Regions from separate parts of the Homo sapiens genome. Here all the other regions are linked to region 2. Evidence: promoter capture Hi-C in 16 types of primary human blood cells and fetal thymus (Javierre and others, 2016). All regions are on one chromosome and are shown on one strand. The core of a region is centred on a gene start or on the middle of the fragment in contact, and the rest is flanking DNA. Distances in the headings are between cores, read along the strand shown.

Region 1 (4,190 bases), core at 247-2,746, 450 kb after region 2:
GAGCTGAGATTGCGCCACTACACTCCAGCCTGGGTGACAGAGAGAAACTTGTTTCAAAAAAAAAAAAAAAACTATTAGGAACTTCTATTTGCTAAATATTTTTTTGCATTATGTAAAGTTTATAATTAGCATATACTAATTTTACAATCAGAAAAAAGATGGGCCGGGCATGGTGGCTCACGCCTGTAATCCCAGCACTGTGGGAGGCCAAGGCAGGCAGATCACGAGGTCAGGAGATAGAGGCCATCCTGGCTAACAAGGTGAAGCCCCGTCTCTACTAAAAATACAAAAAATTAGCCAGGCGCGGTGGCGGGTGCCTGTAGTCCCAGCTACTCGGGAGGCAGAGGCAGGAGAATGGCATGAACCCGGGAGGCGGAGCTTGCAGTGACCGGAGATCACGCCACTGCACTCCAGCCTGGGTGACAGAGTGAGACTCTGTCTCAAAAAAAAAAAAAAAAAAAAGAAAGAAAAAAGAAAGATAAAATAGGTTTTTAGAGACTTGTGAGAACTCTGCTGCAAACGCTGTTTAGGAAAACATATAAAATTTTGTATGTATGTACTGTCACATGTACATGTACATATGTAATATCTATATACCCAATTTTGTAAAATAATCCCAATTTTGTAATACATATAACTAGAAAAAGAGACTGGAAGAAAAGACACCAAAATACAGACAGCTGTTATCTCTATAAACTCCATGAAGGCAGGAGCTTCAACTGTTTTATATTGAAATATATACTCAATTACAAACATATGCTTATTTTTTTTAATTACGAGATATAACCTGTCACTACACTGGACTGAAACTTACTGCTACTTGAGATATTTGTTCCTGATATATAAATTCTGTTTTACTTTATCCTCTTGAAGCATCATTCTAAGTAAAATCTTACAAAGTAAACTTACAAATCCAGCAAGGAAAAAAAATTAGATTACATACTGTACCTTGCTCTGATAAGAACTTTACAATGGCTTTGAGGAACTCAACAAGGAAAATCAGTGTTTCCAAGAAGAAGAAATTCGGCAGGACTTGGTGGTTCACACCTGTAATCCCAGCACTTTGAAAGGCCACGGCAGGTGGATCACCTGAGATCAGGAGTTCAAGACTAGCCTAGCCAACATGGTGAAACCCCATCTCAACTAAAAATACAAAATAATTAGTTGGGCATGGTGGCGGGCACCTGTAGTCCCAGCAGCTACTCAGGAGGCTGAGGCAGAAGAATCACTTGAACCCGGAAGGTAGAGGTTGCAGTAAGCTGAGATTGGCCACTGCACTCCAGCCTGGGCAACAGAGCAAGACTCGGTCTCAAAAAAAGAAAAGAAAAAGAAATTTATGGGCTGGGCACAGTGGCTCATGCCTGTAATCCCAGCACTTTGGAAGGCTGAGGCAGGTGGATCACTTGAGGCCAGGAGTTCAAGGCCAGCCTGGCCAACATAGTGAAACCCCATCTACTAAAAGTACAAAAATTAGCCAGGCTTGGTGGCACATGCATGTAATCCCAGCTACTTGGGAAGCTGAGGCGCAAGAATCGCTTGAACCCAGGAGGTGAAGGTTGCAGTGAACAGAGATCATGCCATTGTATTCCAGCCTGGGCAACTAAGAAATTTACTTCTTTAAAAAATAAAAATAAAAAAATAAGTGAATATCTGGTCTGTACCTTTAATACAATATCAACTAAACTTAAAAGAAAAAGAATTTTGTTGATTGAATTACCAAAGAAAGTTTTTGAGAATTTTAAGGTCCAAAAATGTTACTATTATTTGTCATCTTAACTTAAAGATCTAAAAGTCAAAACATCTGTCTAAATAGAGATGTTCAAGAAATATTTCATGCTTTGAAATGCTATAGCAATAATATGAAATTATATTAAATCATAACCAGATGATATGTCTTCATAACAACTCTCAACCAAAGAAAGCAGATGCTGAAAGAAGGTTGCTGGCCGGGTACGGTGGCTCACACCTGAAATCCCAGTGCTTTGGGAGGCCAAGGTGCGCCAATCACTTGAGCTCTGAAGTTCAAGACCAGCCTGCACAACATGGCAAAACCCCATGTAAAAAAATACAAAAATTAGCTGGGCACGGTAGCTCACGCCTGTAATCCCAGCACTTTGGGAGGCCAGGGTGGGCGAATCACAAGGTGAGGAGTTCGAGACCAGCCTGACCAACACGGTGAAACCCTGTCTCTACTAAAAACACAAAAATTAGCCGGGCGTGGTGGTGCGCATCTATAATACCAGCTACTTGGGAGGCTGAGGCAGGAGAATCGCTTGAACCTGGGAGGCAGAGACTGCAGGGAGCTGAGATCGCGCCACTGCACTCCAGCCTGGGCGACAGAGCGAGACTCCATCTCAGAAAAAAGTTACATCTAAAGTAAGTTACAATGCTGTACATACATTTGACATCAATGACAGTCAAAGACAATGAGAAGGGGAAATGTCACAAAAGAACTGCCATAGAATTTTAACAGAATGATCTCTAATGATCTTTCCCACTCATTTACTCAAGTCTTTGACATCAGCTCATAGCCTTCCTTCTCAACAGGATCCTATCATAATCCAGGGTGATGGCAACAAAAATGTACTCATCTAACCAGGTACCTTGTTCCTAGGTGTCCTCTCTCCACGAATCCACACACGCAGCCAAACTTGCTCTACCTCTAAAGCCATTCATTCGAGGCATCCCATTCTCTAGCCATAATCACTAGCAATCCTGAATATTCGAGATGCATTTGTTCTCCAGCCTCAACTGTACCTGTCTTTCTTTGGTCCTCAGTTTTCTTCATTTCAGCATCTTTCAGATTTCACTTCTACTTTCTCTGGTTTATACTCACTGCTTGTAGGAATTTAATATTATCTCCTTCATTTTGGCAAACTATTTTTTTTTTTTTTTTTTTTTTTGCTACAGAGTTTCGCTCTTGTTGCCCAGGCTGGAGTGCAATGGCGCGATCTCGGCTCACCCCAACCTCCGCCTCCTGGGTTCAAGCGATTCTCCTGCCTCAGCCTCCCTAGTAGCTGGGATTACAGGCATGTGCCACCACGCCCGGCTAATTTTGTATTTTTAGTAGAGGCAGGGTTTCTCCATGTTGTGTCAGGCTGGTCTTGAACTCCCAACCTCAGCTGATCGACCCGCCTCGGCCTCCCAAACTGCTGGGACTACAGGCATGAGTCACCACACCCGGCCATCATTTTGGCAAACTATTAAAACCTATAAGAAATCTAACTTATTTCAATGACCTAAAAGAATCAAACAAGAATTAATAGTCTATTATACAGAATAAAACCATGTTTATCTAATCTTCTCAAGGACATAAACATAACAAACATGAACGTGCTCATTCATTGGTGGGTATTTTAACTCCTCAATAGTCCAACCCTCATCTGCTTTTCCTTAAAATTATTTCATTATTCCAGCTGAGGAGAATTAAATCATGTGAAAAGCCCCATATCAGCCTTTCATAGTAGCATTTCTTCTTTCTTTCTTTTTTTTTTTTTTTTTTTTTTTTTTTTTTGAAACAGTCTCACTCTGTCACCAGGCTGGAGTGCAGTGGTGCGATCTCAACTCACTGCAACCTCCACTTCCCGGGTTCAAGCGATTCTCCTGCCTCAGCCTCCCAAGTAGCTGGGATTACAGGCGCACGCCACCACGCCCGGCTAATTTTTGTATTTTTAGTAGAGACGGGGTTTCACCATGTTGGCCAGGATGGTCTCGATCTCTTGACCTTGTGATCCACCTGCCTCAGCCTCCCAAAGTGCTGGGATTACAGGCATGAGTCACCACACCCAGCCACATTTCTTCTTTCTTCATAAATTTTTTCTGGGCCGGGAACAGTGGCTCACACCTATAATCCCAACACTTTGGGAGGCCGAAGCAGGAAGACTTCTTGAAGCTAGGCATTCAAGACCAGCCTGGGCAAGAAAGTAAGACCCTGACCCTGTCTCAGCAAAAAATAAAAAAATAAAAATTAGCCAGATGTGGTGGCACGCACCTGTAGTCCCAGCTACTCAGGAGGCTGAAATGAGAGGATCTCTTGGGCCCAGAAGGTAGAGGCTGCAGTGAGCTACAATCACACCACTGCACTGCAGCCTGGGCAACACAGTAAGATCTTGCCTTTAAAAACTAAACAAATAAATCAACTTTTTTAAAAAACAATTTTTTCCCTTAACGGTATTTTCTAGCACCTAATA
Region 2 (4,011 bases), core at 501-3,000:
ACCAACACCCCCAACTCTCCCACCTGTGCCACCCGGTACGCCCATGTGGTCCCCTGGTTCCCTCCAATCTGTTTTCACTCTGAGCTTTATGATCTTTGCTAACTGTGAATAGGATTCATGCCATCCACTCCCCTACATAAAACCTTTCTAGGCTTCTCTTTGCTCTTAGAAACTGGCAACTGCCTAAGAGGCCACACCTGGGCCTGTCCCACCTCCCCAGCCCTCACCTCCTTCCCAGGCCTCTGCATCCCTGTCCCCCTCCACTTCCTTTGCAGTGTGCCTCCAGGCCCTCTCCCCTCCGGAGCTCTGCCAGTGCAGAGCTCTCTGAGCCCTCTGTGTGGGACATGCTGTTCTCTCTACTTGGCCTGGTAGGGCTCCTTGAGGAGCCCTCGACCCTCCCAATGGGGTGGAATCCGCCGCGGTAAACTTCCACAGGGCCCCGTGCCCCCACTCTGCAGCGCTTCCCTGGGGTTATTATTCCACTACCAGCTGCATAATTATTTCATCCGTAATTATTGGACTCAGCCCAGCTCACTTCTGCCCCTGGCCTTTGCACTTGCTCTTCCCAGTGCCTGGCGTGACCTTCCCCACACGTCAGTCTGGCTGGCCCCCCTAGCTCCTCAGGTCCTTCTTTTCTTTTTGAGATGGAGTCTCACTCTGTGGCCCAGGCTGGAGTGCAGTGGCACGATCTCAGCTCACTGCAACCCCTGCCTCCCAGGTTCAAGCGATTCTCCTGCCTCAGCTGAGTAGCTGAGATTACAGGCACCCAGCACCACGTGTGGCTAATTTTTATATTTTTAGTAGAGATGGGGGTTTTGCCATGTTGGCCAGGCTGGTCTCGAACTCCAGACCTCAGGTGATCTGCCCCTCTCGGCCTCCCAGAGCGCAGGGATTACAGGTGTGAGCCACCGTGCCCGGCCTGCTCCGCAAATCCTCCTTCTAGTGTCACCTTCCAGGTGAGGACTCGCCAACAACCTGATAGAAACCTGCAAGGCCAGCGCCTCTGCAGCCCCACACTCCCTAACCCCTTCTCTAGGGCATTGCCATCTTCTGACATACCATTTATTTTATGTCTTGTTTAATGTGTGTGTGTCTCTCTCTTAAATGTCATGCAGCCGGGTGCGGTGGCTCACACCTGTACTTTGGGAGGCCGAGGCAGAAGGATCACTTGAGCCCAGGAGTCGAGACCAGCCTGGGCAACATAGCAAGGCCCTGCCTCTCTGTATTTTAAAAAATGAAGTAAATAATAAATACATAAAGTATTTATGTATTTACTTACATTACAAAGTTCCCCCAGGGGCGGGAACTTTGCCTTGTTCTTGCGGCATCCCCAGTGCCTTGGACAGCTCCGGGCCCAGAGTCGCGACGCCTCCAGCAGGCCCGGCTGCCCCACTGCGCACATGGGCACAGGCTTGGCACACGCACTGCGGCATTCACGTATCCGCGAACACATGGGTATCTATTTATACATGAAGACACGAAAATGTATTTATTTCTTTTAAAATCAGAAGAAAACGGTGAGAACTGTGAGGCCGGGGGGACGTTTTCCTCCGGGATCCTGGCAGATCCTGCAGACCGCGCCGTCGTGCGCGAAGCACCGGGACGGGCCTCCCGCGGGAAGGGCCCAGGAGGACACCGGGCTCCCCTCCCGCCCGCGGGGCCCCAGACGCGGCGCCGCTTTAAGGCTCCGGGCCCCGCGCGGATGCGGAGGCTGCGGCCGTGACGTCAGCGCCCCGCCCCGGGTGATGCTGCAGCAGCCGGGACCGCGGCCGGGCAGGCAGCAGCCCAGCGGGGACAGGGATGCCTGCCGTCTCCACCCACAGGTACCACCGTCTCCTCCGCGCCCTCCGCCCGCTCTCTGGCTCCGTGCCTGCCGGGGCGCCGCGCCCTGGGCCCCGGGGTAGTCAGGGCGCCGAGACCGGGACCCGAGGCCGGCACGGAGACCTTTGTTCCTCGTGGAAGTCTCATGAATTGCAGAGTCCACGGAGCTCCCCCGTCTCGCCCCTCCGAGGGCAGGAGCCTCGGGCCCAGGGGAGGGTGCCGGCCAGATGGCAGGTGCTCTCATCCTTGCTGGCAAGGGGAGGAGACCCCGGCCTTGGCCCCAGCTCCTGATGCGCTCCTTGAGCCGGAGGCCTGGTCCCTAGTCACCTGGGCAGGTGTCATCCGCTCCCGGCTCACCTCTTGCGTGGGGCTGAGCCCTCTTGTTGACCAGGGGCCTGGCAACGCCCCTCAGCATCCCAGGGTTACTTAGCGAGGGCACCGAGGACTCCCCTTTCCCGAGCGAGTCAGCACCAAGGGGAACGCGCTGAGGTGGAAGCCGTTCAGCTCCTTCTGCCCTCGACAATCAGCAACTTCTCTAATTATTTCTAGAGTGACAGCCGTGCATGTTTTTCAGCTCTTACAGGGAAGCAGAGTCAGGGGCGGAGGAAAGCCACGTTCAGGCTGCACCTGGCCTGGGCTTTTGGGAAAAGTTGGCCCTGGAGTAGGGGTCAAGCTGCCGGAGATGCAAAGTGGGAAACGGCCACGATTCAGTAACTAGCCTATTAAGTGCACCCTCCCAAGTCCGTAGAGCACCTTCCTGGTCCTGGAGGACCTCACTGAAGAATTTTGAGAATGGGTAGAAAGAAGCATGAGGGGTCGGGCGCGGTGGCTCATGCCTGTAATCCCAGCACTTTGGGAGGCTGAGTCGGGTGGATCACCTGAGGTCAGGAGTTCAAGACCAGCCTGGCCAACATGGTGAAACCCCATCTCTACTAAAAATACAAAATTAGCCGGGCGTGGTGGCACATGCCTGTAATCCCAGCTACTTGGGAAGCTGAGGCAGGAGAATCGCTTGAACCCAGGAGGCGGAGGTTGCAGTGAACCCAGATCATGCCACTGCACTCTAGTCTGGGCGATAGAGTGAGACTCCGTCTCAAATAAACAAATAAGCAAATACGCCCTAGGAAGGGAGGTGGCCCAAGGCAACCCCGTGGGGGGAGCTCATTTTCATAACGAGAAGAAAGAAATGAGGAAATGGTTTCCGCTCGTAGTAGGATCATTGTAAGCATTCAAACTACATTGACATTGATTACTTTTATTAATCATTTGCCGCTTAAACTTCCCACAACACAGTTTGAGGAATCTGTTACTTTAAGCATCCTCTGTACTCTGGAAGCACAGTGGACCCCTTGCATAGCCTTCGGGGGATCCAGGGAGATGAGTGGATTTCCTTTTGACCGAGTAAATGGTCATATGGTACAGTAAAGATGGTCTGGCGAATGTTTGTATTTGTGCATGAAAATTAGATTTTATGATCTTAAATTCCACTTTCACCCATTTTTATGGGAACCTTAAAAATGGATTTTTGTTGTTGTTGTTGTTGTTTTTTGAGACAAGAGTCTCACTCTGTTGCCCAGGCTGGAGTGCAGTGGTGCGATCTCAGCTCGCTACAACCTCCACCTCCTGGGTTCAAGCGATTCTCCTGCCTCAGCCTCCGGAGTAGCTGGGATTACAGGCACTCGCCACCATGCCCAGCTAATTTTTTGTATTTTTAGTAGAGACGGGGTTTCTCCATGTTGGCCAGGCTGGTCTCGAACTCCTGAGCTCAGGTGATCCACCCACCTCGGCCTCCCAAAGTGCTGGCATTACAGGCGTCAGCCACTGTGCCCGGTCTCAAAAATGAGTTTCTAAAATTCTTCTTATGATAAACATTTGTGAACAGTTTTTACTAAATGTAGTTTTAATAAAAATGGTAATGCTGATCCCCAGATTTGAAGATGAATCCTTAGTAAAGACTTCTTCTGAGCCAGGATTAAGCTAGGTTTAATTCTGGTTCAGATGCTAGAGAGAAGTTCATTGAGTGTGTGAGGATCTCCCTTCTGCTAGGACAGGCTGCAGTGGGGTGTGGCGGAGGTGGCAGTAGAGTTGTCCTCTTGCAGGTAGAGAAGTGGGCCGTCTACATAGTCCACTTTAAATAAGGTCAAAGAGGCTCCTCTTTTCAAAAAGACACTTCAGGGGCTGGGAATGGTG
Region 3 (3,738 bases), core at 1,072-3,571, 340 kb before region 2:
CACTCCAGCCTGAGCGACAGAGCAAGACTTCGTTTCAAAAAAAAAAAAAAAAAATCAACCACATTTGGCTTACTGTTTTGTGCTGAGGCTAGATGGAATGCCATGCTAAGAAGCATGGGCCTTATAGTACTTTAAATCAACATTAAAAAATAAACAGGCTGGCTGTGGTGGCTCATAGCTGTAATCCTAGCACTTTGGGAGACTGAGGTGGGAGGATCACTTGAACCCAGGAGTTCAAGACCAGCCTGGGCAACATAGTGAGACCCCCCCACCGACCTCTACAAAAAAATATTTTAAAAAATCAGCCTGGTGTGGTGGTGCACACTTGTAGTCCCAGCTACTCAGGAGGCTGAGGTGGGAGGATCACTTTGAGCCCAGGAATTTGAGGTTACATTGAGATGTGGTGATCACACCACTGCACTTGAGCCTAAAGGACAGAGCAAGACTTGGTCTCTTAAAAAAAAAAAGTAAAAATAGGCCAAGGGCGGTGGCTCACACCTGTAATCCCAGCACTTTGGGAGGCCGAGGCGTGCGGATCACAAGGTCAGGAGATCGAGACCATCCTGGCTAACACGGTGAAACCCTGTCTCTCCTAAAAATACAAAAAATTAGCCAGGCGTGGTGGCGGGTGCCTGTAGTCCCAGCTACTCGGGAGGCTGAGGCAGGAGAATGGTGTGAACCTGGGGGGCAGAGCTTGCAGTGAGCCGAGATTGCGCCACTGCTCTCCAGCCTGGGCGACAGAGTGAGACTCCATCTCAAAAAAAAAAAAATTATATAAAAAACAGTAAAAATAGAAAACACACTAGCAGTGTGTTTATACCATTGAATATCCTGCACCACTGTTGTGGGCACTACACCAGAAATAGGAAAAAATGTGATGATGAGCTGAGCTAATTGAGATGAGGGTTATGGGAATGGAACAGAGGAGTGATGGAAGAGATTTGGATCTTTTAAATTGGCAAACAGAAAAATAAGATTCTTTTTTTTTTTTTTTTTTGTTGAAATGGGAGCTTTGCTCTTGTTGCCCAAGCTGGAGTGCAGTGGTGCAATTTCGGCTCACTGCAACCTCCACCTCCCAGGTTCAAGCGATTCTCCTGCCTCAGGCTCCCGAGTAGCTAGAATTACAGGCACCTGCCACCATGCCCAGCTAATTTTTGTATTTTTGGTAGAGACGGGGTTTCACCATGTTAGCCAGGCTGGTCTCGAACTCCTGATCTCGTGATCCGCCCACCTTGGCCTCCCAAAGTGCTAGGATTACAGGCGTGAGCCACCGCACCCAGCCAAGATTATTCTGAAGTGTTGCAGTTAGGGATTGGAAACATTTTGAACACAAAGAATATTAGCCTAGTCCTTAATATTGAGTGAATGAGGAACGCAAATTGGAAGGGAGTCTATGTTGAGAAGAAAATTAAATGATATTTACTTTGAGTAGGGGAGGGGGAGGAAGTGTGGAGTTGGAGGAGTGGACAGTTGTCAGCTGAGATGCCCAGGTCTAGGAATGAGGCCTCTGGAAGCAAGGTCTTGGCCACCTGGAGGAGCTGGGGAGTTGGCAGAGGTGGTCATTTTGCATGTTACCACAGGGTGGTGCTGTTGGCTGCAGAAGGGGACATGGTCAGCTGCGCCCTCTGCACTGTAGTGCAGAGTACAGAGCGTTTTCATCCATCAGAATCCCAGGTCCTGGGAGAGTGAAACGTCTCTTCTCCAGTATTCCAAATAGGGTTCTGACGCCCCAGAAAGCAGTGATTATGAGCTTACCTGATAAGTATGAAAGACATCAGTAAATTCCTGAATCCAACTGTAACATAAATTTATTCACATCGTAGCAGTGATTTTATTACCACCTTGAAGGGAGCAGCCTAAAAATTCTCGTTCACCGATCACTTTCCTCACTGTGCTATCATCTATTAAAGTTTACTTTAAAATGCAAGATGATGTAGGAATTTCTTCTTAAATTCTTACCAAATAAAAATTAAAAACAATTTATAAATCCATTCAAATAAAAATTGATAATTATTCAATTCTTACGGACTTCTAAAATTTGCTACCATACATAGCTGTCTTGTGTGTAAAAATAACGTGGAGAAGAGACATTTGAGGCTTTTGATTTAAGAGCTATAAATCAGGACTTGGTCTGAAACTGACAGCTGATATTAGGCAGAAAGCTTATGTAATTAGGTAGTATTTGTGTGATCTTCCTGTTTGTAACAGCTACGGTCTGAGTAGCTTGTGGGTATATTATATAATTCCTTCCTTGGAGTCTTGTTGAAAAATGAAAGGACAGTAAGACCAAGACCTCTCAGGTTTGCTGACACTAAAAGTGTACAAACTGTGCCACAGGATCTTAGCCATCCAGGGCACCTTAAGTGTTTCCAAGATCAAGGTGCTGTTCTGAAACGTATCCTTCTAAGTGTCATGTGAGGCCTTAGAAAGAATGTTTATATGTGTGGCTTAGAGGAAAAAGGTAGAATGAATACTTTGTAAAAAGCTTTAAGATGAAATAACAATGAAAGGTATATAAAATCTTTGTTTTTAATCCTTATTTAGGACCATTACATACGCAATATGCTTGTGACCCTCCCTGAAGTTGGCCGTTTTCAGTGAATACATTTAAATAAAAATCTCAAGTTAGGACCTGCCAATTTGGAAAGACTTCATCAACTGACACTTCCATGTGGTTCTTTGCTTAAGTAGCTTTCATCACGTGATGCTAGTGCCTTTATATCTCACACTTCCAGGCACTTCACAGGCTATCTCCTTCAAGGACAGTGTGCTGTCCATTTTAATCCTACCACCTGGCATACTTGGGTGGATAGGTGGATGAACGAGTGTTAATTTCCCATTTTATTTATTTATTTTTTATTTATTTTGAGACAGAGTCTCGCTCTGTCGCCCAGGCTGGAGTGCAGTGGCACGATCTTGGCTCACTGAAAGCTCTGCCTCCCGGGTTCACCCCATTCTCCTGCCTCAGCCTCCCGAGTAGCTGGGACTACAGGCGCCCGCCACCACGCACAGCTAATTTTTTGTATTTTTAGTAGAGACAGGGTTCCAGCGTGTTAGCCAGGATGGTCTTGATCTCCTGACCTCATGATCCAGCCGCCTTGGCCTCCCAAAGTGCTGGGAATACAGGCATGAGCCACCGTGCCCGGCCTAATTTCCCATTTTCAAGTAGAAAATAAGATTACAAAAGAGCAATAAAATCCAGAAGTTCAGAGAGTACCAGTTGCCTTTAGCATGTAACTAAATCTTTCCTTTTACTAAGAGTGAGGTAAGAAGTTGAGCCCGCCCCAGTGATCCTCCCCCTCCTTTGGACTCCTGGTATATGTGGTCCCTGTTCTGGGGATGGGGAAGGTGAGAGAGGTGAGCACATTTTGTTTATCTGTGTATGCTCTGCTGGTATCAAGGTAAATCTTCTTGAGTAAATGGTTATTGAAGTATTTTGAGTTTCTGTGCTTTTGCCAGATGTGCTCAGCAAATCGTTTGTTATAAACATACTTTATCTCTCATACTAGGAAGTGTTTCATTTCAGAATCGTAGCTGTATGTTTGGTAAGAGCCTCTTGATTTTGAAGAATACTTTGCTGTTGCAGTTTTTGTTGTTGTTAGAGAAGGGGTCTGTGTTGCCCAGGCTGATGTTGAATTCCTGGGCTCAAGCAATTTTTCTACCTAGGCCTCCCCAATTGCTGGGATTACAGGCATGAGCCACTGTGCCAGGCACTATTGCGATTTTTTAAACATGGGC
Region 4 (3,779 bases), core at 402-2,901, 420 kb before region 2:
AAAAAAAGCACTAAATGCCAGCCTGGAAAAAAGCATTTATTAGGGGAACTTATATACCGAGAACTGCAGAGTACCCTCAAGATGGACAGAGAGAGAAGGGGTGCTCTGACCAGGTATCTCACAGCAAGGGGGCTCAGAATATAGAGTTTTGTTTTTTGTTTTTTTTTTGAGACGGAGTCTCACTCTGTCGCCCAGGCTGGAGTGCAGTGGCGCGATCTCGGCTCACTGCAAGCTCTGCCTCCCAGGTTCATGCCATTCTCCTGCCTCAGCCTCCCGAGTAGCTGAGACTACAGGTGCCTGCCACTACGCCCGGCTAATTTTTTTGTATTTTTTAGTAGAGACGGGGTTTCACTGTGTTAGCCAGGATGGCCTCGATCTCCTGACCTCGTGATCCACCCACCTCGGCCTCCCAGAATATAGAGTTATATGAAGGTTTGGTCCAGAGCTAGGGACAGTTTTTTTCAAGTAAACCTAGATACTTTCATCAGTGCCTGGAAATGTTCAAGGCCCTGATTTGGGTTCAAGCCTGTTGGACAAAACCTATACAGTTGGCTGGGTTACTGTATTAGTCCATTCTCACACTGCTATAAAGAAATGCCTGAGACTGGGTAATTTATAAAGAAAAGAGGTTGAATTGGCTCGAGGTTCCATAGGCTGTACAGGAAGCATGGCTGGGGAGGCCCTGGGAAACTTACAATCATGACAGAAGGTGAAGGGGAAACAGGCACATCTTACATGGCCAAAACAGGAGGAAGAGAGAGAGGAGGGAGGTGCCACACACTTTTTAACAACCAGATCTTGTGAAACCTCATTGACTATAATGAGAACAGCATCCGCCCCATGACCCAATCACCTCCCACCAGGCCTCATCTCCAACATTGGGGATTACAATTAGACAAGAGATTTGCTGAAGACACAGATTCAAACCATATCAGAGAGCAGTCAAGGCAATCTGATTTTCGGTAAGGACACAGAAAGAAAACAGAGGCCTGAGGGACCCTACAGCGATCGTGACCATCTTTATCCTGTTTCAGCTCATAAGTAAAACACTTTCAACATTTTCTCATTAAGAATAATGTTTACTTTGAGTCGATGCAGTTAGGTGTTTTAAAAAAATAAAATAATAATGTTTACTAATTTTTTTCTTTAGATATCCCTTATCAGTTAAGGAAGTTCTTATCTAGTCCTTTTTATTTTTTGAGACAAGGTCTCACTCTGATGCCCAGGCTGGAGTGCAGTGGCGTGATCATGACTCACTGCAGCCTCAACCTTCCCAGGCTCAGGTGATCCTCACACCTCAGCCTCCTGAGTAGCTGGGACTACAGGCACGAACCACTGCACCTGTCTTTATGATCTTTTTTAAACACTGTTAGATTTTGTTTGTGAACTATATTAACGTAAGAAGTTATCCCACAATTTAGTGTCTTGAAACAGCAAGCATTTGTTATAACATGTTTTCTCAGGAGTCCAGGAGTGGCTGAGCTATGTAGTTCTGGCTCAGGGTCTCTCAGGAAGTTGTGGTCAATGTGTTGGTCAGAGCTGAAGTCATCTGGAAGCTTCACGAGGGAAAGACCTGCTTCCAGGCTCACTGTGTGACTGTCAACATGTAGGCCTCTCAGATACAGCAATTGGCTTCCTCCAGAGACAGCAATCGCAGAGAGAGCGAGAGTGTACCCAACCCGGAAGCCACAGACTTTTTATAACCTGGAATCATCAGATGCAAGTCACTCCATGCTCAAGTGGAGGAAAGCTTAGCTCCACTTCCTGAATGTAGAAATATCAAATGAATGGCCAGGCACAATGGCTCACACCTGTAATTCCAGCACTTTGGGAGGCCAAGGCAGGAGAGGATCACTTGAGCTCAGGAGTTCAAGACCAGCCTGGGCAACATAGTGAAACCTCTTCTCTATAAATAATTTAAAAATTAGCCAGGCACAGTGGTGCATGCCTGTATTGCCAGCTACTCAGGAGGCTGAGGTGAGAGGATCACCCGAGCCTGGGAGGTGGAAGCTGCAGTGAGCCTTGATTGTACCACCACACTTGGCCTGGCGACAGAGCCAGAACTTGTCTCCAAAAAAAGAAAGAAGGAAAGAAGGAAGGAAGGAAGGAAGCGAGCAAGGTAGGTTAAATAATGTGTGGGCATGAAACACCACATTAATATTTTGTTTTGGCCAGGTGTGGTGGCTCACGCCTGTAATCTCAATACTTTGGGAGGCCAAGCCAGGTGGATTACCTGAGGTCAGGAGTTCGAGACTGGCCTGGCCAACATGGCAAAAACCCCATCTCTACTAAAAATACAAAAATTAGCCAGGCACAGTGGTGGCTGGCGCCTGTAATCCCAGCTACTCAGGAGGCTGAGGCAGAAGAATTGCTTGAACCAGGGAAGTGGAGGTTGCAATGAGCTCAGATCATGCTACTGCACTCCAACCTGGGCTACAGAGTGAGATTCCATCTCCAAAAAAAAAAAATTGTTTCATGTTTTTGCCTCTTTTTCTTTTACTGTCCTTGCCTGGTTTTAGTATCAAGGTTACACTGGCCTCACAGAATACCTAGGAGAAGATAAACCACTTTCTTCTATTCTCTGGAAGAGTTTTTATAAAATAGGAATGATCCACTCCATGAAAGTTTAAGAGAACTTACCTGGAAAGTCATCCAGGTCTAAGTTTAATTTGACAAAGATTTTTACTTCTGTTTCAATTTCCCTAATCATTTTATGACTATCCATACATTTTCTTTCTTCTTAAGTCAGTTTTGGTAAGTTACGTTTTTTCTAGGGAATTGGTCATTTTGTCTGAGTTTTCAAATGTATTGGCAAAAACCCGTTCATAGTAGTCTGTTATCGCATGGTAAGCTTTCATTCTACATAGATTAAGTAATGGAGCTTGGATGTGAAGCAGGCTATTGGAAGACTACTGCAGTAATCCAGGCCAGAAATAACACAGGCATGAATTAGGACAGTGAGAGTAGGATGTGAAGAATGGATTGGATTCTAGAAATACACACTGGGATTTGTTGTTTCATTAAATGTGGGTGGTGAAAGAGAGGAAAGAGTCAAAAGGTACTAATCTGATGTCTGCCTTGGAGAGGAGGTGGAAGGAGCTGCTTTATGGAGGAAAATGTTAGCATTTACTGTAAAGGTTTCCATTCATTGAGGTGTTCTATGGATCAGGCACTGTGCTACTTGCTTTATATGTATACATGTATATGCTATATACATATGTATGTATGTAAATATATACATACAGCTGCTATATACTTGGATGTGTATATATATTCATCTATGTGTGTGTGTGTGTGTGTGTGTGTATATATATATTTATATTCTCATTTAATCCTCACAAAAAGCCTGTAAGGTAGGTGCTATTGTCTTCATTTTACAAATGAGGAAACGGACTTCGTGTGAGGAAATGGACTTCGTGGAGGAGATGGTTCAATCCAGTGCCACCAAAACAAAAACCCTCGGCCAGTTTGGAACATCCTGGGTTTGAGATGCCTGTGAGGATCCACACAGACTGGCCCAGCAGATCACGGAACGTGTGAGGTCTGTAGGGAAAAGCATTTGAGAAAGAAGGAACAGCAAACTCCAATGTCCTAAGCCAGAGAAAAGTTTAGTGGATTCAAGGAGCAGAAGGAAATCCAGCGACCCTAGAGGGAGTGGGTGCGAGGGAGAGGGTGATGGATGAGGTGGGAGAGAATGACCGGGGTGGCTGAGAGCAGGGCTGGACTCAGCGCTGGTAACACCAGGCTGGGAGGGAAGCTTTGGGGCTCTGTGGCTCTGG
Region 5 (4,053 bases), core at 108-2,607, 400 kb before region 2:
GGGCTCAAATGATCCTCCCACCTCAGCCCCCCAAGTAGCTGGAACTACAGGCATGCACCACCATGCCTAGCTAATTTTTTGTATTTTTGGTAGAGATGGGGTTTTACCATGTTGCCCAAGCTGGGAAAACAGCATTTTTTTTTTTTTTTTTTTTTTTTTCCTGAGACAGAGTCTCACTCTGTCTCTCGGGCTGGAGTGCAGTGGTGTGATCTCAGCTCACTGCCACCTCCACCTCCCAGGCTTAAGTGATTCTTGTGCCTCAACCTCCCGAGTAGCTGGTATTACAGGCGTGTGCCACCATGCCTGGCTAATTTTTGTATTTTTAGTAGAGATGAGGTTTCACTATGTTGGCCAGGCTGGTCTTGAACTCTTGGCCTCATGTGATCCACCCGCCTCAGCCTCCCAAAGTGCTGGGATTACAGGTGTGAGCCACTGTGACTGGCCAAAAACAGCATTCTTCTTTTTTTTTTTTTTTTGAGACAGAGTCTCGCTCTGTCGCCCAGACTGGAGTGCAGTGGTGGGATCTTGGCTCACTGCAACCTCCGTCTCCCAAGTTCAAGTGATTTTCCTGCCTCAGCCTCCCAAGTAGCTGGGATTACAGGTGCATGCCACCACGCCCGGCTAATTTTTGTATTATTTAGTAGAGGCAGGGTTTCACCATATTGGTCAGGCTGGTCTTGAACTCCTGACCTCTGGTGATCCACCCCCCTTGGCCTCCCCAAGTGCTGGGATTACAGGTGTGAGCCACTGCACCCGATCAACAGCATCCATTTTTATGTAACTAATAAGTCAATTGTTGAAAGCAAAAGGAATCTCATACTGGAAATCTTTAGCATCCTTCGGCACTAAAAGCCAAAGTTTACAAAGAATGGCACCTTATTTCATGATTACCCTTTATGATATGATGTTGCAACAGTTATAAAAAGCTTTTTAAAATAAGGTCTTTTTTTCTTATTCTTTTTTTCCTGTGAACATCATAGTTTTGTGTTTTATTAGATAGTCTTTTAAATAAAAACGTTGATAAAGATCACTCTCCAAGTCCTACCACACACAGGGCACATGTAACCTGCCCTAGCTGCGGTGGGCACCTCTCACCCACAGATGGAAACATCTTCCTGTGGGGGAAGATGCCCACTTTATAGTCATCCGCCCCTCACATCAAAACTTTCCGTCAGAGTGATATCTTCCACTAAAGAAAAAAAATTAAAACTTTCTTCTGAAAAAAACCTGAGCTTGTTTTTAGCATTTAGAAAATGATTTATAATTTGTGTATCCCTAAATGTGCTAATTTATTTTTAATCATAGAAATTTACATTTATTTCTATTAAACCTAATTATGGAACTTTCTAAATTAAACCCAGAAGGGGATCATTTTATTCTGTCTCAATGTTCCTTCCTTATTAATTGTCATTTAGGGGGAGCAATGACTCACATGCCAAGTTCCTGTGTTTTTCATTTATAGCTTTTGCACATGATACCAGAATAGGCTATGATAAAAATATCACAGTCTGTATCATAAACATAGCCTCCTTTCTTCACAGAATAAACTGTGGATTTTCGGTGTGTAACCTAGGACACATGAGAGCCTCGCTCCATTATCTTGGATACCCCAACCCTGTGGGGCATGACCAGTCTCTTTCTGTTTGTGGATAGTCAGCAGTAGGTAATTAAACACCATGTGTCCAAAGCCAAGAGGAGAAATCACTTTAGAACTTACAGCATCATGATTCAGAAAGACAAAAATATTCGCACCTAGCTTTGTTCCTGAAATGGCACCAGTATACTTCCTAAGCTTTGCTTTGCCTACTATTTGGCAAGAATTGTACAGCCAATAATTGTTCTCTTATTCTTATTGGAACACCAGATGACTCAATTCTGTAAAATTATCAACTCTCCCTAAATTGACCTGTAGATTTAATGAAATTCCAATCCAAATCTTTTCAAATTCAGCTTCTAAAATTTATATTGAATAATAAAGAACCAAGAATAACCAAGACATCTCTTTTCTTTTTTTTCCTGAGACAGAGTTTCGCTCTGTCACCCAGGCTGGAGTGCAATGGTACGATCTCGGCTCACTGCAACCTCCGCCCCCCGGGTTCAAGCAATTCTCCGGCCTCAGCCTCCCAAATAGCTGGGATTACAGGCACATGCCACCATGCCTGACTAATTTTTGTATTTTTTAGTAGAGATGGGGTTTCACCATGTTGGCCAGGCTGTCTCAAAACTCCTGACCTCAGGTGATCCATCCGCGTCGGCCTCCCAAAGTGCTGGGATTACAGGCGTGAGCCACCGTGCCTGACCTAGCTAAGACACTTCTGAAGTAGAAAAAGAAGGTGGAGGGAGATGTCCTACCGGATATCGAGAGCTGTTACAAAGCTATTGTAATAAACACAGTGTGATACTGGCACAGGATAGACAAATTGACAATGGAACAGAACAGGGAGCCCAGAAGCAGACCCATGGCCCTATGGAAACTTGATGGATGGTAGGTGAGATTGCAGACCCGCAGGAGAAAGACGACGTATTGAATACATGGCGCAGGGACCAGTGGTTACCTACATGCAAGACATGGAATTGGATCACTACCTCCCAACAGGCACAAAAGCCAGTTCCTGATACATTAGACTTCAAGATGAAAGACAAAACTTAAAACTTTTGGAATAAAATGTGGGCAAACCTCTTTATAGTATTGGGCAGAAAAGGATTTCTTTAGCCAGGCAAGAAAAAATGTTAACCATATGAGAAAACAGTTATAAATTTAACCAAATCAAATGAAGAACTTTTTGCTTATTACCAGAAAGACAAAGAAAGACACCATTAATTAGAGAAAAACAGGAGGGGCGCGGTGGCTCATGTCTGCAATTCCAGCACTTTGGAAGGCTGAGGTGGGAGGATCACTTGAGCTCAGGAGTTCAAGACCAGCCTGGGCAACATAATGAAACCTCAGAAACCTCACCTCTGCTAAAAATAAAAATAAAAAAGAATTTTATAAAAAATTTTAAAAAGGGAAAAATAAATTACAAAGGATATATATATATATATATATAGATATAGATAGATAGATAGATAGATAGGCAGAATTTCACTCTTGTCACCCAGTCTGGAGTGCAATGGCACAATCTTGGCTCGCTGCAACCTCTGCCTCCTGGGTTCAAGCGATTCTTCTGCCACAGCCTCTGGAGCAGCTGGGGTTACAGGCACCCGCCACCATACCCAGCTAAGTTTTGTACATGTTTAGTAGAGATGGGGTTTCACTGTGTTGGCCAGGCTGATCTTGAACTCTTGACCTCAGATGATCCACCCACCTCAGCCCCGCAAAGTGCTGGGATTACAGGTGTGAGCTACCGTGCCTGGCCACAAAGAAGATATTTTTTAACACATATAACTGACCAAAGATTATTATCTAGAATACATAAAGACCTTTTAGGAATCAGGACAAACAACCACATTTGGGTTTGTTTGTTTCTGAGAAAAGGTTTTTCTCTGTTGCCCAGGCTGAAGTGTAGTGATGCGGTCCCAGCTCACTGCAACCTCTGCCTCCCAGGCTCAAAGCGAACCTACTGAGTAGCTGGGACTTCAGGTGCACACCACCACACCCGGCTAATTTTTGTATTTTTTGTAAAGACAGGGTTTCGCCATGTTGCCAAGGCTGGTCTCGAACTCCTGGGCTCAAGCGATCTGCCCACCTTGGCCTCCCAAAGAGCTGGGACTACAGGCATGAGCCACTGCACCCGGCCCCAAGTTTTTTTGCAAATGGGCAAAAAAGCATGAGCAAGCATTTTATTTAAAAAAATAAACACAAATGGTATATAAATATTTGACAAGGTGCTCATCAGTAACCAAGCAAATGCAAACTAAGACCACAGTGAGATCTCATTCTATACCCACTGGCTTGGCAAAATTAAGGGCACCTGATAGTACCAGAGGGTAGCAAGGATGTGGATCAATGGGATACTTACATGACACTTATATGACTGACGGGAGTACATTAGAACAGCCACTTTGAAAAGCAATTTGGTACTGCAGTAGACTATTGTTCAGAAATATCTTCTC
Region 6 (3,884 bases), core at 690-3,189, 370 kb before region 2:
GCGTGAACCCGGGACACGGAGCTTGCAGTGAGCCCAGATCGTGCCACTGCACTCCAGCCTGGGCGACAGGGCGAGACTCCATCTCAAAAAAATAAATAAATAAATAAAATAAAAAAAAAATAAATAAATAAATAAACCAAGAAATAGATTTTATTTCATTTTGATTGACTATAGGTCTAATCTTGAATATCTCAAGCAGCTAAATACTTTGAGGCTAAATAGCATGAAGGCCCAACAATTCTAAACAGGATAAAGGAGACATTTAGAAAGAGAAAGCCCTCAAAATAAGCTTCCTATAAAATATTCTTCCGCCCTTCCAGGGCGCATCTTAGAGGGAATCTCTTCCGTGGGATATTCACTGTTTACACTTGTTTTCTGCCTGAAAGATCTATTCTTTCAAGATTCAGTGTCGCCACCCCTACTCCAAACACCCAAACTAGTAGTCACTATTAGACATACCTGGTGCTTGTGATGTCAGTAGGTGTTCTGAGGCCTGGGAAGGAGTAAATTGTTTTTAAACTTGGAACAAAGAAAATGAGCAGGAAATCAAAGAGGAAGGAGGCAGAGTAAGGAGAAGGAAGTACGAATCATAAGGAGAGGCGGGTGTCAGCAGCCATCGACTTTGCTCACCTTTCCTCCTTGTTCTGCCCTTTCTCCAGGTGGCATCCACTCATATGCTAAGGCTTATCAATAGTTGTCTCCAACTTCAGACCACCCCCAACACTGTGCAGTCCCCAGGACAAGAGTACAAACAGAGGCCTGCTTACCATGTGTCCAAATATTTAGAAATTGTTCATCAATCCAAATACGCTGTTAAGTATGTTCTGTCCAGAGCAGAGACACAAACACACAAACACAATGAACACAGAGCTGCGTCTGTGACTGGGTGTCTGGCGCACGGTGCTGGCATAGGGATGCATTAACTCGGCTCCATCTGCTCTCTGGACCCACACTGCCAGGCCTGGGTGAAGACTCCCCCACATCCCTGGATCCATGTCCTTGAAACTCCATTTGAGGGTGACACCGTGCTGTGAGAGTTGTGAGCTGTGCTGTTGCCTCCAAGAACGGCAGGGAGGGTGTGAGCCATAGAAGTACCAGGCAGACAAAAGGCAAGTAGATTTGTCAAATCCATCTCAGATACCAAGGGTGTAACAGATTCTTGTATAATCTATTATTATGCAAGAATATCACAGACAGTGGTATTTCCCTACAGTCCCAAGTATCCTTTTTTTTTTTTTTTTTGAGACAGGGTCTCACTCTGTCACCCAGGCTGTAGTGCAGTGGTGCAATCTTGGCTCACTGCAGCTTCTGCCTCCAGGGTTCAAGGGATTCTTCTGCCTCAGCCTCCCGAGTAACTGGGACTACAGGTGCGCACCACCTTGCCCAGCTAAGTTTTATATTTTTTTGTAGAAAGGGGTTTTGCCATGTTGCTCAGGCTGGTTATCCACTTGCTTGATCCAATTTATGGCCCACTTGGTGGTTTTGGAAGTTCTTGTATATTGCCATGGAATTCACAGCAGTTATGCACAAAGTCTGAGGAAGACTTTGTAATATTAAACAATTCATATTATTCTTGAATATGCACATATGTAATATGTAGAATAAGAACTGCAGCATTAATTCTTTACTAGAATCACCTAGGACTGAGACCCAGAATGACAATTTCAATTTTTATAAAAATATTTAAAACAATTTAAATTTCAAAAGATTAAAAATCTCAGTTCTTTAATAAAAATAAGTTTTAAATATTTGATATTTATCCACTATAATTTGTTTTTAATTCTAATACTTTTGGAACTTTTAGAAAAATGAAAAAACGAATGTAAAAACAAATTTAAAATTTTACATACTCAAATTCACACATTATATTAAATACATACAAATGCTGTATATGTTAAGTACAATTATATTTTATTTCTTAATCCTTTAAGTCATTACTGTCCAAACACAAATTATGCGAAATTATCTATTGTAACAAATGAAATGAAAGCAAAAAAATAAATTTTCTAGATAAAAATACAATTATTTATGAACTATGTGTGTCTTTTTTTTTTTTTGAGACGAAGTCTCGCTGTGTCACCCAGGCTGGAGTGCAGTGGTGTGATCTCGGCTCACTGCAACCTCTGCCTCCTGGGTTCAAGCGATTCTCCCCACTCAGCCTCCCAAGTAGCTGGGACTGCAGGTGTGTGCCACCACACCCGGCTAATTTTTGTATTTTTAGTAGAGACGGGGTTTCACCGCATTGGCCAGGATGGTCTCAAACTCCTGAACTCAGGTGATCTGCCTGCCTCGGCCTCCCAAAGTGCTGGGCTTACAGGCGTGAGTCACCATGCCCGGCCCTGTATGCCTTTATTTACCACTAATTTAAACATTTTCAGGTCATCAGAAAACATCTACACATTTGTAATGTTAGTTAAACTCAGTCATCTTTGCCAACTTTGTTACATAAAAATAATTTGTTATTTAGTTACTTTGAAGACTTCTCTGTGAAGTAGAATATTCTCCTTGCGCTTGATTTGCCACTTTTAAATATTCAGACATGGTGTGTGGGCCCCATTTCTATACTTGCTCCAGGCCCCAAAAGTGTTAGAGACAGCGCTGAGAGACACACAGTTGGTAGTCAATAAACCTTTATCAAATGAACAAATAAATACATGGATTTGTTCACTCCAGTCCTGCGGTCTGCCTGTCTCTTCATGACCTAATGTTTTAATTTCACTCTCTTCCTGGGGAAATCATTCTGGCATGCAGACCCCAACCTGAGCTGTCATTGTCCTTTCTCAGGTCTCATGTAAAATGCTTTTCTGATCACGGCTGACACTGGCCGAGGGCTTACTATGCGCAAGGCACTGTTCTATGTATTTACAGAAGTTCCCACAATTATACCTTAGGACAGCCTTTGTCCCTGTTTCACAGGTGAGGAAACAAGGGCACAGAGAAGCCAGGTAGCCTGCCTGGTGTCACCTGGCTAGTAAGGAGCCGAGAAAGGATTAGAAACTCGGCTGTCTGGCTGCAGAGCCCATGCTCTTAACCAGACTCTTAACCTGCCTGTGCCCAAGGCCCCATTCGCTTGTGGGTCCTATGCTTGTGGAGCCCTCAGAATAGGATTCGTAATTCATAAAATATATTACAAAGGATTACAAAGGAAACCAACTGAATTGAAATGTCCCTGCCAAATATTTTAAAAGCCAATTTGTGATGCACTAATATATGGACTTAACATGTATCTGGCATAATTTCAAATTAATCATGAATCAAAATGGTATTCTGGGATATCTGCAAGAACTGTAATGTGATATGAAGATGACTTTCAGTACTATTGGTCCCAAGCCATGAGTACTGTTCCTTCAGCTATGCTTTGTGAATTACTATATTCCAAATGGGAAGAAATGTTAGGTTTAGATTTCCATTAGAGGTTAGTGAAACTAAAGATGTAATTTAAATCTAAGTTCACAGACTCCCTGATTTTTATCTGTGCACCTTTGAGCATCTGTGGACCTCAGGGTCACAACCCCTGTATGAAGTCTCCTTGCTGTCGCTCATGCGCTTAAACAGTTTGAGCTCTGGGAACTTGCTCTTACTCCAAGAGCAAGCTTCACTTTGATTATTTCTCCAGATGCTGTCATTGTATCTTAAGGCAAAAACTCTATGTCATTTCTGTCCCTCACCATCCTCACCAAGATGGCACATGTTTATGGTGTATCACATTCTGTGGTCCATTCCTCTGGTCCCTTCAACGCTGAATTTAAACAGATTGCGACTACCACTAAATAAATGTTTTCTAATAACAAGAGCTAATACTTATGGGTGGCTTCCTGCATTGCAGATGTTATGCTAAACACTTTAAATGTTTTATTTAGTCTCAGAAGACAGATTTTGTTCCT
Region 7 (3,868 bases), core at 94-2,593, 420 kb after region 2:
TTTGTTTGTTTTTTGGAGACAGAGTCTTGCTCTGTTGCCCAGGCTGGAGTGCAGTGGCACAATCTTGGCTCACTGCAAGGTCCGCCTCCTGGGTTCATGCCATTCTCCTGCCTCAGCCTCTTGAGTAGCTGGGACTACAGGCGCCCGCCACCACGCCTGGCTAATTTTTTGTATTTTTTAGTAGAGACGGGGTTTCACCGTCTTAACCAGGATGGTCTCAATCTCCTGACCTCGTGATCCACCCACCTCGGCCTCCCAAAGTGCTTGGATTACAGGTGTGAGCCACCGCGCCCGGCCTATACTTGTTCTTAAAGTGAGCATCATGTTTTTCTTTCAACTTCTCAATAAATTGCTAATATGAAATATTTTATCAACTTCAAAACAATCCCCAAATTTCAAAAATATAATAATCTTGGAATGTTTGTTACCCTTGGCTTATATCATAGAAGAACAGAGGAGGCAATTATCAGAAGAGTCACATTTCAACTTCCATCATTTTACCCAAGGGACAGTCAAGTAAAGTAAAACTGCCCTAAGTGTCTTATTTTCTTGGGTCTCTCAACACTCTTTTAGGCAAACACTTGGTCTTCACCAAGAACAAAGAGTTATAGGTGTCTGTTACCTCTAGGAGAAGCAAGGGGGAAAAAAAAAAAAAAAAAAAAAAAACTAAAACCTTTGGAGAGTCATTGTTTGACATCTTCCTTCTCAGCTTCCTTCTTATATAATTCCCAGGAGTCCTAGCCAATAAAGAATGGTTTAACTCTTCTTTCTGAAAAAAACAAATGATTATCTTTCTTTAGAAAATGTATTCCTCTTTCCTCTGAAGACTCAGAAGCAGACCTTTCAGGAGAATTTCTGGATTAGAGTGTGCCATTTCAGCCAAGGGACTTCCTCTACCAGGGTCCAAAGATAACACATTCTAATGAATGCTTGCTGGACTGTTTCCTTTTTTTTTCTGACAATTTGAAGGTCTTCAATGAAAGCATGCCAGTATTACCACAGACTTATCTTAGGGCAGTGCTTTGGTAAACCAAATTCAGAAGCTTTAGAAAAGACTAGAAACTAATAAGTCAGCTATACATCCACTTAGAGTTTGCCAGACAGAGAAAAAGGAAAATAACATTCCAGTCACAAAGAATAAATCACAGAGGGCTTTAAGGCTTAATTGCCACGTTTTCCCTCCAAAAGAATCAAAAGTTTATCACACTTGTTTCCTAAATCTCCAAAAATGTGAGTTATTGAGAGAAGAGTCATACAATTTTTAGGAATTTCCATTTCTTCCGTTGTCGAACCTTTGAAAAACAATTGCAAGTTGAAGAGAACTCACATGACCCAGAAACTGTTCTGAGCTCTATCAATGTTCAGGAAGCAGAATTTTTTTTTTTTTTAACTTTTTAAACTCTTTTTGTAGAGACAGGATTTCCCTATGTTGCCTAGGCTGGTCTCCAACTCCTGGGCTCAAGTGATCCTCCTGCCTTGGCCTCCCAAAGTGCTAAGATAACAGGTGTGAGCCACCACACGTGGCTGGAAAAAAATGTTTTCATCCAGAGAGTAAAACTCAATGAAGTGGCACAGCACGCAGTACATTTCAACTTTCCCCTCTTAAAGATTTCAGCCTACACACTCCAATTTCACACTCAATGAAAGCTTAAGCAAAATGTTAGCATAAATCAAAGTTTTAAATCATTTTAGATTGTTAACTAGCAAATGTCCTGCAGAAATTTTAAAACTCACTAAATAAATTATAAATCTAGTTATGAGAACAAAGCACACTGTGGAATATAAGGATGCAGAATAAACAGCTATTCAGAAAGTGTGTCCAATTTTTGTCCCACCCCTAAGTCAAGAGGCAAACCATGACCCCGCTGTGGGACTGGGCTGTCAAGCACTCTCCCTCCTCTGCTAACGCTGTTGCCTCTGTTCAGAAGACCTTCCCTGCCCTCTCTTCACGGGGCAAACCTACACCTCTCCTCCAAGATCCAGCTGAGCCTTTACCTCCTCTGTGGCCCCTGATCAGAATCCCCAAGGCAGAAGTTTTTGGAGCTTTATTCGTGCCTTTCTTTTGTTGTTGTTCTTTTTTTTTATTTTTTTGAGATGGAGTCTCGCTCTGTCACTCAGGCTGGAGTGCAGTGGTGTGAACTTGGCTCACTGCAACCTCTGCCTCCCTGGTTCAAGTGATTCTCCTGGGCTGGTCTCAAACTCCTGACCTCAAACAATCCTCCTGCCTCAGCCTCCCAAAGTGCTGGGATTACAGGCATGAGCCACCACACCCAGCCTATTCACGCCTTTCTGACACCTACCACTCACTATAACACACTTAACAAGCCTCTTCCCATTCCCCACCCCTCAAGGCAGAGCCTGCAGCCCTGGTCATCCTCTATCCCTGACACCCACCACATTGCCCAGCAGACAACAGCACAGTCAGTAGTCCCATTTACTAAGGACTTACGTGCCAGACACTATGCTCAGTGCTTTATATAATATCAACTCATTTCACCTTCACAAAAACCATATGAATAATATAATAATAAACTATAGTATCCCTCCAATCAGTCTTCCCCAGCCTCCTTAGGAGGTTCCTTTTCATGTGAACAGGCTGTAACCTACAGGACTCTATCCTGACCATACTGTCATCTTGTTCCTCACACTCTTCCTGGGCAATCTCCAATCCAGGTCTTTGGAGCTCATTCCAAACCCATATAGGACAGGCACTTGGATATCTGAGTGTTCTGCACTTAAAATTGGTCATGTCCCAAACTCTGTCCATCTCTCTCCCCAAATATGCTCTCTCTTTATGATTCTAACAGAACACTCTATGTCCAGTCATAGCCTAAGTCCAATCAGGAGAAAGAAACTACATGGTAATTTGAACAAGGGAAGATAAAAAATCATTAACTATAACAAAAGATTAATGAGAAGTTGGCAAATAAGACCTTGAAAGAACACAGCAATAGCTGACATAAAATATAGTAGCAAATATAATATTATGTAACACAACATATAATTGCCACCACCCTTAAGGCTGAGACAGAGCACCCAAGAAAGAGTTCCCCCAACTCTAGGGCTGAGATCCAGACCTTGCTGGAGGGGGCTCATACCTGACAGAACTTCAGGCAATCCACTCTGTGAAATTTGCCAGAAATCAGTCCTCTAGAATGCCAAGGAAAGTTGTTTGTGGGAGAGTGTCTCAGTGGACGTACTCTGCTACCTGGGCAGCAGGAGAGCTGCTGGTCACTAAGAGCTGCAAATGCCTGAGCACTGAAGAAACACCATGTGCCACACTGGCCTCTCTTGGAACCAGCAAGTAAATCTCTTTCCTCCTCAATGTCTCTCCAGCACCCTCTACTGACAAAACTAAACATCGTGCCAGCTGGCGGAGGAAAAGCAAAAGGCCCAGATTCATTTTCACAGAGCAAGCAATGAAGGACATACTTCGAGGTGAGAAGCAATAAATCAATAACTGACACAAGCACACAATCATCTATCAGTTGTCTAAGCCCAAAACCTAGAGGCATCCTTGATTTTTCCTCCAGTCATCAAGTCCCACAGGTCCTACCTTCTAAGTATTTATTGAATCCATCTACTTCACTCCATCCACTTCACTCCATTATGATTAATGTTAATAATACTGATATATTAATTAATTATATTATATAATAAATAATATATTATTGTTAATAATAGTGTTAATCCCCCCGTCCAGTTTTACTTGCTTGCTTTTTTTATTCTGTTTTGCCTCTGGGCCACTGCACATGGGTTTCCTCTGCCCAGAACAGCCTTCCTTCTTTCCCCTATTGCCATATCCACTTTTTGGTTAGCTGATTCTTCATCATTCTTCAGCTCTCAACTCTCTTGCTCCAAGTTACTT

Evidence for each region. Contacts are between HindIII fragments. The CHiCAGO score rates a contact against its expected background, and 5 or more counts as called.
Region 1: a contact is called between a fragment that was not itself captured here and the fragment with the promoter of SLC45A1 in region 2, in 1 of 17 cell types (activated CD4 T cells). The highest score is 5.1, in activated CD4 T cells.
Region 3: a contact is called between a fragment that was not itself captured here and the fragment with the promoter of SLC45A1 in region 2, in 16 of 17 cell types (endothelial precursors, M2 macrophages, M1 macrophages and 13 more). The highest score is 34.5, in endothelial precursors.
Region 4: a contact is called between a fragment that was not itself captured here and the fragment with the promoter of SLC45A1 in region 2, in 3 of 17 cell types (total CD4 T cells, activated CD4 T cells and total CD8 T cells). The highest score is 7.0, in total CD4 T cells.
Region 5: a contact is called between a fragment that was not itself captured here and the fragment with the promoter of SLC45A1 in region 2, in 1 of 17 cell types (total CD8 T cells). The highest score is 6.3, in total CD8 T cells.
Region 6: a fragment that was not itself captured here is called in contact with the fragment with the promoter of SLC45A1 in region 2 in 8 of 17 cell types (naive CD4 T cells, endothelial precursors, total CD8 T cells and 5 more); the score reaches 8.5 in naive CD4 T cells.
Region 7: a contact is called between a fragment that was not itself captured here and the fragment with the promoter of SLC45A1 in region 2, in 1 of 17 cell types (M1 macrophages). The highest score is 5.1, in M1 macrophages.

Annotation. Positions count from the first base shown.
Region 1 is chr1:8,771,468-8,775,657 of GRCh38, forward strand. The region is part of intron 1 of RERE (arginine-glutamic acid dipeptide repeats); the gene reads right to left. Among named protein-coding and RNA genes, the nearest start is that of RERE, 44 kb to the right of the region's middle. The HindIII fragment of the contact is 5,646 bases long and covers 1-4,190 here.
Region 2 is chr1:8,316,364-8,320,374 of GRCh38, forward strand. SLC45A1 (solute carrier family 45 member 1) reads left to right here and starts at 1,751. Exons shown (of 9, transcript NM_001080397.3): 1 at 1,751-1,823. RefSeq lists a silencer at 1,581-1,860. The HindIII fragment of the contact is 5,366 bases long and covers 1-4,011 here.
Region 3 is chr1:7,973,872-7,977,609 of GRCh38, forward strand. The region is part of intron 5 of PARK7 (Parkinsonism associated deglycase); the gene reads left to right. Among named protein-coding and RNA genes, the nearest start is that of PARK7, 14 kb to the left of the region's middle. The HindIII fragment of the contact is 323 bases long and covers 2,161-2,483 here.
Region 4 is chr1:7,898,326-7,902,104 of GRCh38, forward strand. It overlaps a transcript of UTS2 not described here. Among named protein-coding and RNA genes, the nearest start is that of TNFRSF9, 41 kb to the right of the region's middle. The HindIII fragment of the contact is 194 bases long and covers 1,555-1,748 here.
Region 5 is chr1:7,914,930-7,918,982 of GRCh38, forward strand. TNFRSF9 (TNF receptor superfamily member 9) reads right to left here. Exons shown (of 8, transcript NM_001561.6): 8 at 942-4,053. Among named protein-coding and RNA genes, the nearest start is that of TNFRSF9, 24 kb to the right of the region's middle. The HindIII fragment of the contact is 866 bases long and covers 925-1,790 here.
Region 6 is chr1:7,944,465-7,948,348 of GRCh38, forward strand. No RefSeq gene overlaps it. Among named protein-coding and RNA genes, the nearest start is that of TNFRSF9, 5.6 kb to the left of the region's middle. The HindIII fragment of the contact is 3,304 bases long and covers 288-3,591 here.
Region 7 is chr1:8,736,210-8,740,077 of GRCh38, forward strand. The region is part of intron 1 of RERE (arginine-glutamic acid dipeptide repeats); the gene reads right to left. Among named protein-coding and RNA genes, the nearest start is that of RERE, 79 kb to the right of the region's middle. The HindIII fragment of the contact is 604 bases long and covers 1,042-1,645 here.